Linked DNA regions of Homo sapiens: region 1 is linked to region 2. Evidence: promoter capture Hi-C in 16 types of primary human blood cells and fetal thymus (Javierre and others, 2016). All regions are on one chromosome and are shown on one strand. The core of a region is centred on a gene start or on the middle of the fragment in contact, and the rest is flanking DNA. Distances in the headings are between cores, read along the strand shown.

Region 1 (3,970 bases), core at 1,293-3,792, 400 kb before region 2:
GCACTTTTAATTACAAGGTCAGTTTTTCCTTCAGGACATTTATAGATTTTTTGTATTAGGTGGGTGCAAAAGTAATTGCAGTTTTTTGTACGTAGATATTATGTTGGTACAAAAGTAACTGCAGTGGCAAAAATCGCAATTACTTTTGCAACAACCTAATATCTACATAGAAAGACTCTGAAGAGTAAAGCAGAGATTTTGGCATTCTCACATGTCAAAGATTAGTGTTCGGTACATGCCAGAAGAAGGGCTGCAAAAAAACATAGCAAGCTCCCAGTTAAAACACCTGGAGGGCCAGGGGTAAAAAGAGGCCAAGTGAGTCTCATGAGAAATACAACTAAGCCCTGAAATTAGTACAGTCACTAATTACATTAAGGTGCTTAGCCATCTATCTGCATAGTGGGGAAAAAATGATCCCTCTGTGAAGACAAACATCTTTTTTTTATTTAACAAAATACCCATTATTTGATAAAAAATTTATTAGTAATGCCAAAAGACAGTACTACATGATCAAAAGCCAAGAAAAAAAAACAGATACTCCAAATATTGGAATTAGTTGATAATTACGTGAAAATAAATATAATTAATATGTCTAAGAAACAAGAAAAAGATAGATAAAACAATTAAGAATTTCCTCAGAGAATATTAATAAAAATCTTTAATCAACTGTAGGCATGCAAGGAAAAAAATACACATACACATGATCTGAAATGTAGAACTCATTAGATGTTTGAGAGCAGATGAAACAGATGAGAAAATTAGTGAAATAAAAGACAAGTCAACAGAAATAGCCAAACTAAAAGACAGAGAAAAAATTCAATGGGAAAAATGGAAGAGTGTAAGAGATAATGTGTGACATAATCAAACATCTAAGAATAATACATAATTAGAATCTCGAACAGGAGAGAGAAAATGGGGCAGAAGCAACACATGAAAAGAGAATGGCCAAGAATCTCCCAAACTGAAGAAAAACACCATCCTATGGTATCAGAAAGTTCAGGCAGGAACCCCAAGCAGAATAAAAAGGGAAACAACAACAAAAAAGACAAATCCTAGGAAAATGAATCATAGCAAGATTGCTGAAAACCAGAAAGAAAAACCTTTAGCAACAGATTTTTTTAAAAAAGACATATTACCCTCTATAAGCCTAACTTCTAAAAATATGAGAGAAGCCTGAAGACATAAAATGACATTTTAACATTATTTGCTATAATAGGCAATCTAGACTTTCCTATCTGATGAAAATATCTTTCAAGTTTAAAGTGAAATATTCTATCAGAAAAAAAAGAAAACAGGAAATGTACTACCAAGAAACAGTTACTACAGGAAAATAGTAAAGAGAGTTCTTCGGGTTGTTAAAAAAAAAAAAAGATCCCATAGGGAAATATAAAATTGTTAAAGAAATGATCAGCAAAGAAAACGGTAAATGTGATAATATAAATATTCACTTAGTAGTGACAGTACCAAGTCATACTAGTAATACATTTGTGTCTATATGGTTGGTTTAACAAATGTAAAATTAAAATAATCAAAAGGCAGCAAGTAAATGGCATTAAAGCCTTCTAAGGTTCTAGAAATAGTCAACAGTGCAGATTATAATCTTTAGTAAAAGTTTATATAAATAGCAGATTGATAGAGGATATAACAAGTCAATGATGCATGTTATAATTCCTAGTATAAGAATGTATAACTAGAGTAATAAAGAATAAAATGAATCATAAAAGTTAATTCAAAAGAAAATAAAAGCAGAAAGAAAAAGGTGCTGGGTCACATACACCAGCAAATTGTAAAATGTATAATAGAAACCAAATGTAGCAGTAATTACATTAAATGTAAATGGACTGCAAATTCCAATTACTAAGACTACCAGATAAGATGAAAACACAAAACCCAAATATACACTGATTATGAGACACACTTTAAAGGATGCAGGATGTTTGTAAGCATCATGATGGAAGATATATATCATACAAATGCTAACCAAACAAAACTCTTATAGCTAGTTGGAAACAGGAAATGCCAAGTCTCAGTAAGGTAGATTCCTTCAAAAAGGAAATACAAGCAACATGGATTAGAGATGATAATATCTCAAGAAAACAATGTAAATAGTTGTTTTACTGGTGATAACTGGAGTATCTCAAAACTCTATCCCTCACTAAATTCAATCAGAAGTGTCATACTTCAGTGTAGCTAATATAAATAAAAAGCCTCTAGAGTATCAATCCCTCTTTTGCCATTTTGGCAACTCAAGTAAAAGCAAAATACAGAGGTTAGGGCAAGAATTATCTAACACAGGGGTCAGCAAACTTCTTCTGTAAAGGGTCAGATACTAAGTAACTTGGCTTGCAGGACACAGTATTTGCTGCAACAACTCAACACTACCCTAAGTTGTAGTAAGAAAACAGCCACAGATAAGCAGCACATGTGTGCCTGTGTTCCAATAAAGCTTTATTTACAAAAATATTGCCAACCTGTGATCTAGAACAGTTGTTCTCGGAAGCATGGCCCCTGGATGGCAACACTAGCATCACCTGGCTACCTGCTAGAAATACAGATTCTCAGCTCCCACCTAAATAGAATCAGAATCCCCATGAGCAATCTTTATTTTAACAAATCTTCCAGGTGATTTTGAAGCTTAGTAAAGCTTGAAAACCACTGACCTAGGGAGTATACTGTTATTAAACTTACCTACAGCCACAAGGTGCTATATTGATTGTCAAGATTAAAATACTGAGGAAGAAGAACTAAATATCCATCTTAAGGTCTCATACCCATCTCATGTTCATCAATCAAGACCTCAAATGAGGTTGAGGATTTTAAAGAAAAAAAAAAATGAAACCCACAGTTGAGATATAGACCACCCATAACCATGAAGCCAAAACTGAAGTCACCCTGATTTTCCCAAAAAGGAAAATATGTGGCCAAAAACAGTAGTTACTAAATGTACACATGGGGAAACTAAGGCTCCAGTTAAATTACTTGTTCAAGGTCTCACTGACTCTCTTCAACATCCAGAAAAAAATGCAGTTAATCTAATAAACACATCTTCCCCCACCTCTAATAAACTCCACATTCTAGATTCTCTTTCTTTTCTAAGTCAGGTAGGGAAGTATGTGGCATATAAACACCCCAGACGACACAGAAAACAAGCCAATACATTTATCATATCACTATTACTATCCTCATTTTGACTTTGGTTTAGTTCAGTCTCTAACTCCCCAACATGAAAATGCTGGAGTTATAATTTTTTACCAAAACAGCAAAATTCCTATCTACAAGAAAGCCTCCCAAAAGGAGGCTTTTGGGTATCACACAGGTATCACAAAAGTCACCCAAAAGGAGGCTTTTGGCTGTGTGGTATCACACGGATAATATCACCTACTTCTACTGACTCTAGCAACTTCCCTCATCCTACTCCACTTACACACACACACACACACACACACTCACTCTCTCTCTTTCTCCTCCACCTTGCCTGTTTCAGGAACAAGGCAGTGGGATTAACTATCACTATATAAGAGATAGAAAATATGGGGAAAACATCATTAAAAAAAAAAAGACATTACCTCTGAGCACATTAGTTCTGTCTTAAAACCAAAATTCCCTAGTCCAGCTCTTGAAGGAAAAATAACATTTTGATATTAATTACATTTAAAGAACTATTCAGCATTAACTACATATTCTAGTTGTTTTTTTTCAAATTTACATTCTCTTGAGAAGTCCTATTTATTTATAACTATTTTTGTTCAGAATATAATTTTATGTTAAACATGTATACTTACATTACAAATAAGATTTAAATTTTTTCACATTAATGCTTTAAAAAATTACTAATTTGGAAACATATATGTATTACTATATTATGCTGAACTATGAATCCATGAGGCTTTCTGTTCAAGACTGACCACACAGGTATTCTTTCCCTTATATCTCATTAAAGTATAAAAATGTATAAGTCAATATACAGATG
Region 2 (3,770 bases), core at 1,063-3,562:
CCATAGCTCAACTCATCGCTTTGCTACCTCCCACCACTCCCCTGGCCATCTTTTCTCCTCCTGTGTTCCCGAGCTTAATGAAATGGTACCACCACTACTAGTTTACCCTAGCCAGAAACCTGGAAATCATCTTTGACTTCACCCTCTTTCATTTCCTTATCCTCTTATATCTAAATCAGGGTTTCTAAACCTTGGCACTTCTGACATTTTGAGGGCTGGATAAGCCTGTTTTATGTGTGTGTGTTGATGGGGTGGTGGGGGTGCTGTCCTGTGCACTGTACCATGTTAATAGCAACCCTGGCTTTTATCCATTATTTAGGTCCCAGAAGCAACCCCTAGAAGTGCCAGAAGTTGTTACAATCAAAAGTATCTCAATACATTGCAAAATGTACCCTGGGAGGGCAAAATTGCCCCCAGTTGAGAATCACTGACCTGTATCCATCAAGTCCTCCCTGTTTTACCTCCTGAATACTGTATCCCTTAAATTGATATACTTTTCATAATCTCCTCTACCACATTCTCATTTCAGGCCATCATCAGGGTAGATTAATCTACTAGCCTTCTAACGGGTCTCCATACCTCCAGACTGGTCTCCTCCAAATCATTCTCCACAATGATGCCAGAATGACCTTTCAAAGATCAACCCCCTTCCTATAACTCCGCAACATCTTCCTCCCAACCCACCATTAAACATTGTGAAGTTTCACTTTGCTCTTCAGATAAAGACAAATTCCTTCACATGACTTCCAACACACTTAATAATCTGGTCCCTTGTTTACCTCTCCAGCCTCGCCTTTCATCCTCTCAAACTCTATGCACTAGTTAGACAATTTCTGTTAGTTTTTCTATCACACAAACTGAACCTCTCGGGGGGTCTCTCAACCTGGGACATTATTCTCTCCATTTCCTCATCTGATCAACTCCTACTTATTTCTTCATGTCTCATTTCCTCTGGAAAGCCTTCCCTAATTCTTCAGAGCTGGGTTAGATGCTCCTCCCACAAGCTTACAAAATACTGTAAAATCACCTGACCACAGCACGAGGCATTGTAACTGGCTACCTCCTCTGTATACATTCCGCCCTTTAGATTGTAAAATCGGGACACAGACTGTCCCTTATCTTGCTCAAAAACCTCCAAAACAAGGTGCTTAGAAGGAATTATATTTATTTTTTAAAAAATAAAGGAATGTTTACTACAAAAGACACAATCTTTGGAGCTAATTCTCTCAAAAAGTTGTTTCTATATGGACAAGTAAAACCAACAGAATAAAGTGTGTGCCAGATTATCCGTTTAAAAATATCTGGGCAAAGTCTTCATGCTCTGAAAATGTCCACGCATCCCAACTGACAGTGGAATTCAGAGGCAATTCAATAATAGTTTGACCTCAGACCCACTCCCTCCAGCCTATTTTCTGCCAATCTAACAAACAGCTTTCCACAATTATCATTACCTATTTTCTACTAGTTTTCTCATCAGTATCGGTATTAGAGTGTGCAGGATTTAAAATCAGTATCTTGAAGGTGGAGAAGAATCCTTGTAATAAAAGCAGAGGCCACAAAATGTTATTTGTACCAACTACCTGGGTACCTGCAAACATAGGCCAAAGCATTCGGCCCTGTCATTCACTCTTTGCCCCTGGGAACAGCAAAGATACCGCTGGAGCCACTGCCTGTCAGTCCCCTAGGAGTGAGTCTGTCATCAGCACCCGGACCCTGCAGAAAGGCCCGTAGTGGGCGTATCCCCAGCTTCCCCGAGCCCCATCCACACAGAGCGGCCCTGCCTCTGCGAGCTGAGTAGCGATCGGGATCCTCTGCACCCGCTCCACAACGGCGAGGCCTCCCTGCCGGAGCTCCGAGGGGCGGCCAGGTCCTCACCCACCCCCGGCCGCGCGTCGCCGCCCACCTCGCAGTGCAGGAGTTCGGTGCCCGGGTCCTGCCGCCCCGCGATCCGGCAGAACACGCAGGTGCTGTCGTAGTCCTTGGGCTCTGGTGACTTGCCAGCGGCTTCACAGGTCCCCACTGAGGAAACCGTAGTTTCTGCAGTCGCCGAGGCCTCACAGTCGGGGGCCAGGCCGGCGCTGCGGTTCACCTGTTCCTCCGCCATTGCACCCGCCCCTCGCGGCCTAGAGCCTCGGCCTCTCCAGGGCTACCGGGCCCGCGCAGTCTCCGCGTCCCGCACCTCCTCCGTTTTACCTCGAGACGTCGCCCCTCGCCTGACGCTGGGCGGTGATCCAGGCTTTGGGGAGAGGGAAGGAGACGCGGTGAGGAACTTCAAAGCCGGAGGCCGGCCTCAAAACCGGCTGCCACTAGAGGGCGCGCAATGGCGCTGCCGAGAGTCGTCCTGACCCCTGCGCCTCGTTGGTAATGACGCACGACGTCTGCCAAGTCGCAGAGCGCCCAGCGCGTCGTGGTGACATCACAGAGGCGCGGGAGCGTTTGACATAATGGAGCTTGTTGGGTGTTCTGGACAGGCGTTCTTCAAAGCCCATAGTATAGCGTGTCCAAATATTGTATTACGCTGCCGTTTTTTTAAAAAAAAAAACAAAAAGTTTTTTAAAGTTTGATTTTTAAAATTCGTAGGTTTTTAAAGAATGAGCAAAATTCCTAAAGCCTTGTTTTCAACAGACATCATGTTTGCTGCTTTTTCAGCCACGATAATTGTAGGAGTTTAAACTCAAAATGTCCAAAACTGACCTTTACATCTCTGTTGACTTTTTATTGTTGTTAACAGCACAGTTAGATCAAACTAGCGACCTTTTTTTTAATCTCACATTCCTCATATACAAGTAGATGTGGAGTCCTATAGTCAATACTCTGAAATATCCCAGAAATTCAATGCCAGTGCCTCATAATGCCTCACCTAGACCAACGCAATCACCTTCTAACTTACTTATTGATTTTCCTGTCACTCAGACAAAACCTTCTGTAACTATGTGCTCAAAGAAAAAGTACCAGTTCCTTAGCTTGGTGTTCAAGGTGGACTCTGATTTGACCTCAGCTTTTCGTTTTGTGATACTTCCCACTTGCTGAGCATCTAAAACATGCCATATATTTCTCTAATTGTCAAAAAACGCAAGGTTGGTTTTATAACCACCGCTCTAGAGATGAAGGACCAAACTCAGAGTTGCCCAGTCCCACACAACTAATTAATAGTGACAGAGTTTAAGATCAAGGTTTGTCTAACTCCAAAACCCACCAACCTTTTTGACATACAGCACTCCTTTTTTAACACCAAAAAATTTGTTGGACTAGCTCACTATAGTAGTTACACCCTTGGTATTTGCTGATTTAGAAAATACATAACAAATTGGGAATTCAGTAATGATTTTTAATGGATTTATGTTGTAATAAAAAGTGGTTGTATGTGTTTTGAATTGTTGTACATATACATTCAAGACATTTTTCATTCCTTTTTGTAGTTGGCCCGTAGTTTGGGGAACCACTACAATAGCTTCACTGCCTTTCAGCACCCCAAAGCAGAGTTCAGAATCAATACATTAGAGTTTTGCCAAATTTTAGTATTCACAATTTCCATGCCTGTACTACACCTTCACATCACTGCTTTTATTCACACAGTTCTCTCTCAAATATTCTTGTTTCCATCTCTTCACTCCAAATTCTACCTTCCAAGCCACCCCTCCAATGCTACCTCCTTCATGAAATTTTCTTTAGCCAAACTGACATAAGCACATCCTCTTGCAAATTCATATAACAGGTTTTCAATATTTCTCTTGTAGGATTTGTCTCTTTGTATCTTATAGCTATTTATG

What was found. Contacts are between HindIII fragments. The CHiCAGO score rates a contact against its expected background, and 5 or more counts as called.
Region 1: a fragment that was not itself captured here is called in contact with the fragment with the promoter of HINT3 in region 2 in 1 of 17 cell types (fetal thymus); the score reaches 5.1 in fetal thymus.

What each region holds. Positions count from the first base shown.
Region 1 is chr6:126,350,626-126,354,595 of GRCh38, reverse strand. It overlaps a transcript of CENPW not described here. Among named protein-coding and RNA genes, the nearest start is that of CENPW, 12 kb to the right of the region's middle. The HindIII fragment of the contact is 188 bases long and covers 2,449-2,636 here.
Region 2 is chr6:125,955,312-125,959,081 of GRCh38, reverse strand. It overlaps HINT3 (histidine triad nucleotide binding protein 3), which reads right to left and starts at 2,312. Exons shown (of 5, transcript NM_138571.5): 1 at 1,904-2,312. The coding sequence starts at 2,104. RefSeq lists enhancers at 1,090-1,139, 2,200-2,299 and a silencer at 1,810-2,029. The HindIII fragment of the contact is 9,214 bases long and covers 1,007-3,770 here.